Linked DNA regions of Homo sapiens: region 2 is linked to region 1. Evidence: promoter capture Hi-C in 16 types of primary human blood cells and fetal thymus (Javierre and others, 2016). All regions are on one chromosome and are shown on one strand. Each heading gives the region's core, a stretch centred on a gene start or on the middle of the fragment in contact. The rest is flanking DNA. Distances are from core to core; before and after follow the strand shown. Region 1 holds the start of NOLC1 (nucleolar and coiled-body phosphoprotein 1). Region 2 overlaps GBF1 (golgi brefeldin A resistant guanine nucleotide exchange factor 1).

Region 1 (3,653 bases), core at 742-3,241:
CGGGTGCGGTGGCTCACACCTGTAATCCCAGCACTTTGGGAAGCCGAGGCAGTAGATTCTTGAGGTCAGGAGTTCAAGAGCAGCCTGGCCAACATGGTGAAACCCCGTCTCTACTAAAAATACAAAAAAAAAAAAAAAAAATTAGCCAGGCATGGTGGGGCACACCTGTAGTCCCAGCTACTTGGGAAGCTGAGGCAGGAGAATCACTTTAGCCTGAGAGGCAGAGGTTGCAGTGAGCTGAGATCGTGCCACTGCACTCCAGCCTGGGCGACAGAGCCAGACTCCGCCTCAAAAAAAAAAAAAAAAAAAATTAAATGCATGTGAAGGGCGTAGCATCTGACCCTTAGTTAGCTCTTCACAAAGATTAGCTTTTCTCACATAAAACCATTTCAGAATCCTAATCCTGAGGCCGGGCACGGTGGCTCGCGCCTGTAATCCCAGCACTTTGAGAGGCTGAGGCAAGTGGATTTCTTGAGGTCAGGAGTTCAAGACCAGCCTGGCCAACATGGTGAAACCTCATCTCTACTAAAAATACAAAAATTAGCCGGGCGTGGTGGTACGCGCCTGTAATCCCAGCTACTGGGGAGGCTGAGGCAGGATAATCACTTGAACTTGGGAGGCGGAGGTTACAATGAGCCGAGATCGCACCATTGCACTCCAGCCTGGGCAACAGAGACTCCGTCTCAAAAAAAAAAAAAAAAAAAAAAGAATCCTAATTCTGAAATGTCCAATTCCATCCAGTCCACTGTGAAAGCACTCTCCGCAGTCTCCTTAACAGTCAACTCTAAACAGTTTCATTAAGAAAGCAGTTAGATCACATGGCAGCCTGTCCCAGCTTAAGGAAGTTTTGAGGCTGATCTGATTCTTTGCTTTCGCAGCCTGATTCTGCTAAAAGTGCAAGCCATCCTTCCTAGTCATGCTATCATCCCTGCTGAAGACCCCCCCTCTCTCCTCTCTCAAAGTGTCTTCCCATGCAGGAATGTCCGTTGATGTAGATTACAAACCTTTCACATTCCTGGTTCTCTTACTCTTACATGTGTTTGGAGCATCCTAAATTGCCATAACTATGGTACAGCTTTCACTTTTACAAGATTCCTCTGTACCAGCACTGAGATTGCTACTCTTACACATCATCTTACTGAAACTCACAAAAATCCTATAAAGTGGATGATGACATCCCTGTAGAAAGACTCAGAAAGGTTAAATAAACTGCCCGGGTCACGTATCTAAAAAGTGGCAGAGCCTGGTCCCAAACCTAGGTTTGTTTGATTCAATTAGCCAAAGCTCCAAGCCCACTACTATGCCTACTTGGTAGGGCTGTTGATGACTCTCAATTCTCAGTGTAACTCAAAACAAAACTCTGCTTCTACTTTCATTCATTTTCTTCTTTACAAACGAAAATCCCAGACTTCATTCTAAAGAAATTTCACTTGCTTTTGAATCCCAGTAAATGTGACTGAGGCTAAGGTCAAATCACGGTTTGCCTCACCCAACGAAAAGCCCCCCAGAAGATGCCGAAGAACCAACGTCCTCAGTGGAACAAGACTCTACCTCCCCGCTGCACTCTGCCAGCCATGTGGCTTGGGGCCACGAGGCTCCCACGCTGCCGCCGCTGCACAGGTCACAAGAAAAAAGCAACAAGACTCAGCGATATCTACTCAGACATGGAGGAAGGTAAGCGACCGAGGCCGCAGGCTTTCTCTGGTCACTGCCGAGGGGTCGGCGTAAAGGCCTTGCAGACACTGGACTGGCGGACCCCCAGACTTCCCCACCTGGAAACCTAAGCACGTCAGGGCCTGAAGCCTTGTGGTCATCTCAGCCCGGTCCCCGCCCCAAGCCCGGAACTCACAGCTCCTGTCGCTTTGGCGAACTTATTGGCCACCTCTGAGAGTTGGTTATCGCGCAGGAAGCCGAGCACGAGGGGATACAGGTCGCTGGGAACCACGCGGCGAATGCCGGCGTCCGCCATCCTCCAGGCAATACGCGTCACTACCGTTGTCGACGCAGCACGACTCAGGAACCCAACAGGGGCAGTGGGCGGGCCTGTGTTACGTCATTGCGCCGCGCGGGCGCATAACGGAAAGGGTGGGCTCCACAGGGCAGTCCCACCTTCACCTCAGAGGTAGGGTAGACGGGAAATCTATAAACTCTTTCCGGTCCCACGCGTATCGCCATCTTGGTTAAGGGCGGAGCCCACCGGCCGCCAGCTTGTGGAGGCGGAGCTCTGACGTCAGGGATCACGCCCTCGGCGTGGCGGGAAAACTCGGGACTTCCCGCGCAGTCTTTCTGGGGGAGGTACCTTTTCTCAGAGCAGCGGTTTCCCGCGCCCCTGCTGGGACTCGGATTCCAGAGTAATGAGTGGACAAGCGGGCTCGAACAGTTGTTCTACAAGATCTCCCAACCGCCCCCATGGCGTACTGGCACGGCCAATGGATTCTCGCCCTTCATCTTCACTGCCTCCAATACCCAGGGAGGCCCTTTCTGATACCATCCCAGCCTCCAGACTCCTGCCTCTGCTGCAGAAGATCCTTCGGGTTATCCGTCGTGAGGGTGGGAGGTGTTGATTTCCCAAGCTGCCCCTCCCATCTCCCTTATATTCCGCCTTAGGTCAGCTCCATGAAGAGGAAAGGTGTCATGCACCAAACCTGAATCACACACAGCAACAATCTATTCAAGCTGAAGAGATTGTTGAAAATAACCCTTCTTCCTCCGGGATCAGAGTTCACACTCTGCCTTTGTCATGAGTAACTCCAGTATCAATGCCTTTGTCATGAGTAACTCCAGTATCAATGCTCAGACCTACCAAGTTAATTCCAAGTTCTGCCACATTCCAGATATTAGCAGTTAGCAATCCCTTCAATCCTACCCACTACCCCTTGGCTACCTCCCACTAATGCCGCTCAGGAAAGATAAGGATCCTCATGGGAACACACCCCCCTCTCCTATATAAAATTGGCCAGGCATAGTGGCTCACAACTGTTATCTCAACACTTTGGAAGGCCTAGGTGGGAGGATCCCTTGAGCCCAGGAGTTAAGAGGCCAGCCTGGACAACACAGTGAAACCCCCCTATCTCTACAAAAAATTTTTAAAATTAGCCAGGTGTAGTGGCATGCACCTGTGGTCCCAGCTACTTGGGAGGCTGGGGCAGGAGGATCAACTGAGCCAGGGAGGTCAAAGCTGCAATGAGCTATGATCCTGCCACTGCAATCCAGCCTGGGCCACAGAGTGAGATCCTATCTCAAAAATCAAAAACAAAGCTGGGCACGGTGGTTCATGCCTGTAATCTCAGCACTTTGGGAGGCTAAGGTGGGTGGATCACCTGAGGTCAGGAGTTCAAGAACAGCCCTGGCCAACATGGTGAAACCCTGTCTCTACTAAAAATACAAAAAAAATTAGCCAGGCATGGTGGCGGGTGCCTGTAATCCCAGCTACTCAGGAAGCTGAGGCAGGAGAATCACTTGAACCCGGGAGGCAGAGGTTGCAGTAAGCCAAAATCGTGCCACTGCACTCCAGCCTGGGAGACAGAACAAGACTCCATCTCCAAAACAAAACAAAAAAATTCAAAAACAGAAACAAAAAACTCCACAGTTCCCTCTTCCCCACGCTTCCTGTTCTACCCACATGCATGCATTATTTAAAACATTTGAGCACC
Region 2 (3,653 bases), core at 314-2,813, 230 kb before region 1:
TAAATATATTTTTGAAATATTTTTAAAAATAGAGATGGGGGTCTCACTATGTTGCCCAGGCTGATCTCAAACTCCTGGCCTCAAGTGATCCTCCCACCTCAGCCTCCCAAAGTACTGGGATTACAGATGTGAGCCACAGCACCGGGCCTCAGCTACTTTTTAATAACAGAATGCAACTTCCAGCAAATGTTTTTCTTTGCTTCCCAGCAGGGAGACGGCCAGTTTGCAATTGCTCCAGCTTTTTTTTTTTTTTTTTGAGACAGAGTCTTGCTCTGTTGCCAGGCTGGAGTACAGCGGCACCATCATAGCTCACTGCAGCCTCAACCTCCCAGGCTCAAGCACTCCTCCTGCCTCAGCTTCCCAAGTAGCTAGGCCACAGATACATGGTCTTGAACTCCTGGGCAAGCGATCCTCCTGCCTCAGTCTCCCAAAGTGCTGGGATTACAGGCGTGAGCCACCGCACCCCACCCCACTCCTGTTCCCACTTCTTTCCTAATTTTTGAGATTGGTTTTATAAGGAACATTAGAGCTGTCCTATTTCTTTGTTCATAGGATGGCCTTCAGACTTATTTGCAGCAGTTAACACTATTTCTCCCATAGGGAAACACATGGAAGCTTCTAAAGGCAGAGCTTGTGGGGCTCAGATGGGAGAACAGAGACACCACAGTTGAAGCCAAATGCCCCAGTATCTAGCTGGCTGTAGATCCAGGCTTTTCTGCACACACATAGAGCTTTCTGCCCCTCCTAATTTTCCCAGGGGCAGGGTTGGGCAAGACTTCTGGTTAGTATGCAAACCAGGCATGGCCTGGACTTCAGGAAGAAGGAAGGGAAGAGGGAGAAATTAGCCTAAGAGCTTCCGGTTTCATATCAGTATTTTTCCACTTCAGGTTGTTCCCACTCTGAGGTGCCTTTTTCTACACTGAGGGAGGCGTTGCAGAGGTCCAAATGCCCAGCCATGTGCATGTGCTGAGCAAAGGGAAGCCTGGTGCTGGAGAATCATACTGCCAGCTGGGCCCCAGTGCAGGGGGTGAGTGCCCCTAACTCTCTGTGATGGAGGCCAGCTGGAAGTACAACAGGGCCACACTGTTCTCTGTGCCCCAGGGAAGGGAAGGCACCATTGCGGAGGTGGAAACCAAGATGATGTGGATGCTTCACTTGGGAAAGCTTAATACCCAGCATTTTGTATCCCACCATGAGAGGGGAAAACACCTTCAAAGTGTTTCTATTTTCTCACTCAAAAACAATCAACACAGAAGACTTCTGTGACCAAATGTGTGTGTGTGGGAAAACCCCCACACACCAGGCAAGCAATCAGCTCTATAGTAGACACCAGCTGGGTGGCCTCCAATTCAATTCTGACACTATCTAATTGGAAATAGTGCCAGGTCCCATAGGTTGAGGGCTCATTCCCCAGGACTGTACTCTACTTCTTTACAAAAATGCTTTTTTTTTTTTTTTAAATAGAGACAGGGTCTCGCTATGTTGCCCAGGTTGGTCTTGAACTCTTGGCCTCAAGGGATCCTTCTGCCTCGCCTCTGAAAGTGCTGGGATTACAGGTGTGTGCCATGGTGCCCGGTCATTGCCTCCACTTCTGATGCCAATTGTTAAGTTTCAGGTGGTTTTTCCTGTATTTCTTACTGACCAGCTATAAATTGGGCTTCGCATGACCCCCTTCTTGGGTTTGGGTTCAACTAGTTTGCTAGAGTAGCTCACAGAACTCAAGGAAACACACTTACCAGTTTACTACAGGGAATATTATAAAGGATACAAATAACCAGCCATGAAGACATACATAGGGTGAGGTCTGAAAGGGTCCAGAGCCCGGGAGTGATGTCCCCGTGGAGTTGTGGTGCGCCACCCTCTGGGCACAAGGATGCACTCGTTTGGCTTCCTGTAAGCCTACATGTTCAGCTCTCTGGAAGCTCACCAAACCCTGCCCTTTTGGGTTCTTAGAGAAGCTTCCTTACATAGGCACGGTTGATTAAACCATTGGACAGTGGTGATCAACTTAACCTTCAGTCCCTCTTCCCTCCCTGGAGGTTGGGGGCTGAGCCTGAAAGTCCCAACCCTTTAATTCTGCTTTGGTGACCAGCCCCCATCCAGCAGCTACATAGGGGCTGCCAGCTATCAGTCAATCATATATTAAAGGACATCACTTTGGAGATTCTAAGGATTTTAAGAGTTATGCCAGGAAACGGGGTGAAGACCAAATATCTATTTCACAGTATCACACACCCATAGCACCTCCACCCTGCAGGGGCCACACAGCCTGCCCCATACACACTTCCCACCTGTCTTACCCTGATGCCAAGGGAAAGGAGAAGAGGGGTCCTCTAATCATGCTGCAGTGAGTGAGGTTTGAGGTTTGTGGGGCTGGGAAAAGTTACCCCTTTTCAGTTTGGGGTCAAAATGAATGCCCTGGGCTCCAAACCCATGACTGCAGCTGTGGGCAAGATACCCTTCCCAGGGCTGGGTGCAGTGGCTCATGCCTGTAATCTCAGCACTTTGGGAGGCCTAGGCAGGAAGATCATTTTAGCCCAGGAGTTCCAGACCAGTCTGGGCAACATAGTGAGACCCTGTCTTTATAAAAATTACACAAAAAATTAGCCAAGTGTGGTGGTGCACACCTTAGTCTCAGATACTTGGGAGGCTGATGTGAGAGGACTGCTTGAACCCAAGAGTTTGAGGCTGCAGTGAGCTATGATTGTGCCACTGCACTCCAGGCTGGGTGACAGAGGGGGGCTCCAGTGCAGTGGCACAATCATAGCTCACTGCAGCCTCGAACTCTTGGGCTCCTCTGAAACCCCAACAGCTGTTTTGGTCTCTTGGATGGTGAGACACATCTGAGAGAAGACTTCTGAATAACTACAACTCAGCCCTCACTCCTCTTCCCTCTCACCTAGGCCAGGTTGTCTCACGTGTCTCCCTTGTTACAGTTGTTAGGGAAGATTACGACAACTGCCCGAGCCACTGCCCAAGCCCCTGGGCACACCTGTGATGACAAGGGTACACCCTGTGGCAGGGCAGGGGTCAGCAGCAGTGAAGGAATCCTGACCCCCGGCCTAGCATCTGGCGGGGTGGGGGAGGGGGGTGGTGGTGTTAGGTAGGCTCAGCCTCTGCTCACACCAAGTCCAAGCCCTGCGCACCCGATAACATGGTGCCCTGACCCACAAGCTCAAGAAGGAAACCGGAGGGAGAGACAATGATGCTGGTACTAAGACATTTATTATATCATAAAAAGTCCACTGTTGTTCTGTTTTTCCATATGTACATGCTCCTGTGGGCAGTCCCCCACCCAGCCCCCACCTGCCTACCCTCCATGGTGCCAGTCAACTCTCCAAACTGACCAACTAATTAGTAAAAGAGGAAGAACTGGAGGAGGTGGCCCAGGGCTAATGGGAGTGGGAAACAAAGTGCAGAGTGGTTGGGCTTAGTTTTCAATGCCTGACCGTGGGCAGGCACTGCAGGGCCGGCACACGGATGCCTCCCCAGAGCTGCCGGGCTGGAGGCAGAGGCTGCAGATGACAGCTGAGTTCACTCTCAGGCTGAACCCCCAGGAATGGAGCGCAGAGGAGGAAAAAGGTCCCACAGCTGATTGGGGGTCTTAGCTGGGGCTATCAACATTCTCTTTTTCAGGTCCCCATCCAAGTGGC

Evidence for each region. Contacts are between HindIII fragments. The CHiCAGO score rates a contact against its expected background, and 5 or more counts as called.
Region 2: a contact is called between a fragment that was not itself captured here and the fragment with the promoter of NOLC1 in region 1, in 7 of 17 cell types (M1 macrophages, megakaryocytes, endothelial precursors and 4 more). The highest score is 9.9, in M1 macrophages.

The regions. Positions count from the first base shown.
Region 1 is chr10:102,150,727-102,154,379 of GRCh38, reverse strand. It overlaps NOLC1 (nucleolar and coiled-body phosphoprotein 1), which reads right to left and starts at 1,991. Exons shown (of 13, transcript NM_004741.5): 1 at 1,850-1,991. The coding sequence starts at 1,969. RefSeq lists enhancers at 1,881-1,930, 2,101-2,400, 1,306-2,505. The HindIII fragment of the contact is 8,659 bases long and covers 1-3,653 here.
Region 2 is chr10:102,382,450-102,386,102 of GRCh38, reverse strand. GBF1 (golgi brefeldin A resistant guanine nucleotide exchange factor 1) reads right to left here. Exons shown (of 40, transcript NM_001377137.1): 40 at 3,207-3,653. Among named protein-coding and RNA genes, the nearest start is that of NFKB2, 11 kb to the left of the region's middle. The HindIII fragment of the contact is 794 bases long and covers 1,167-1,960 here.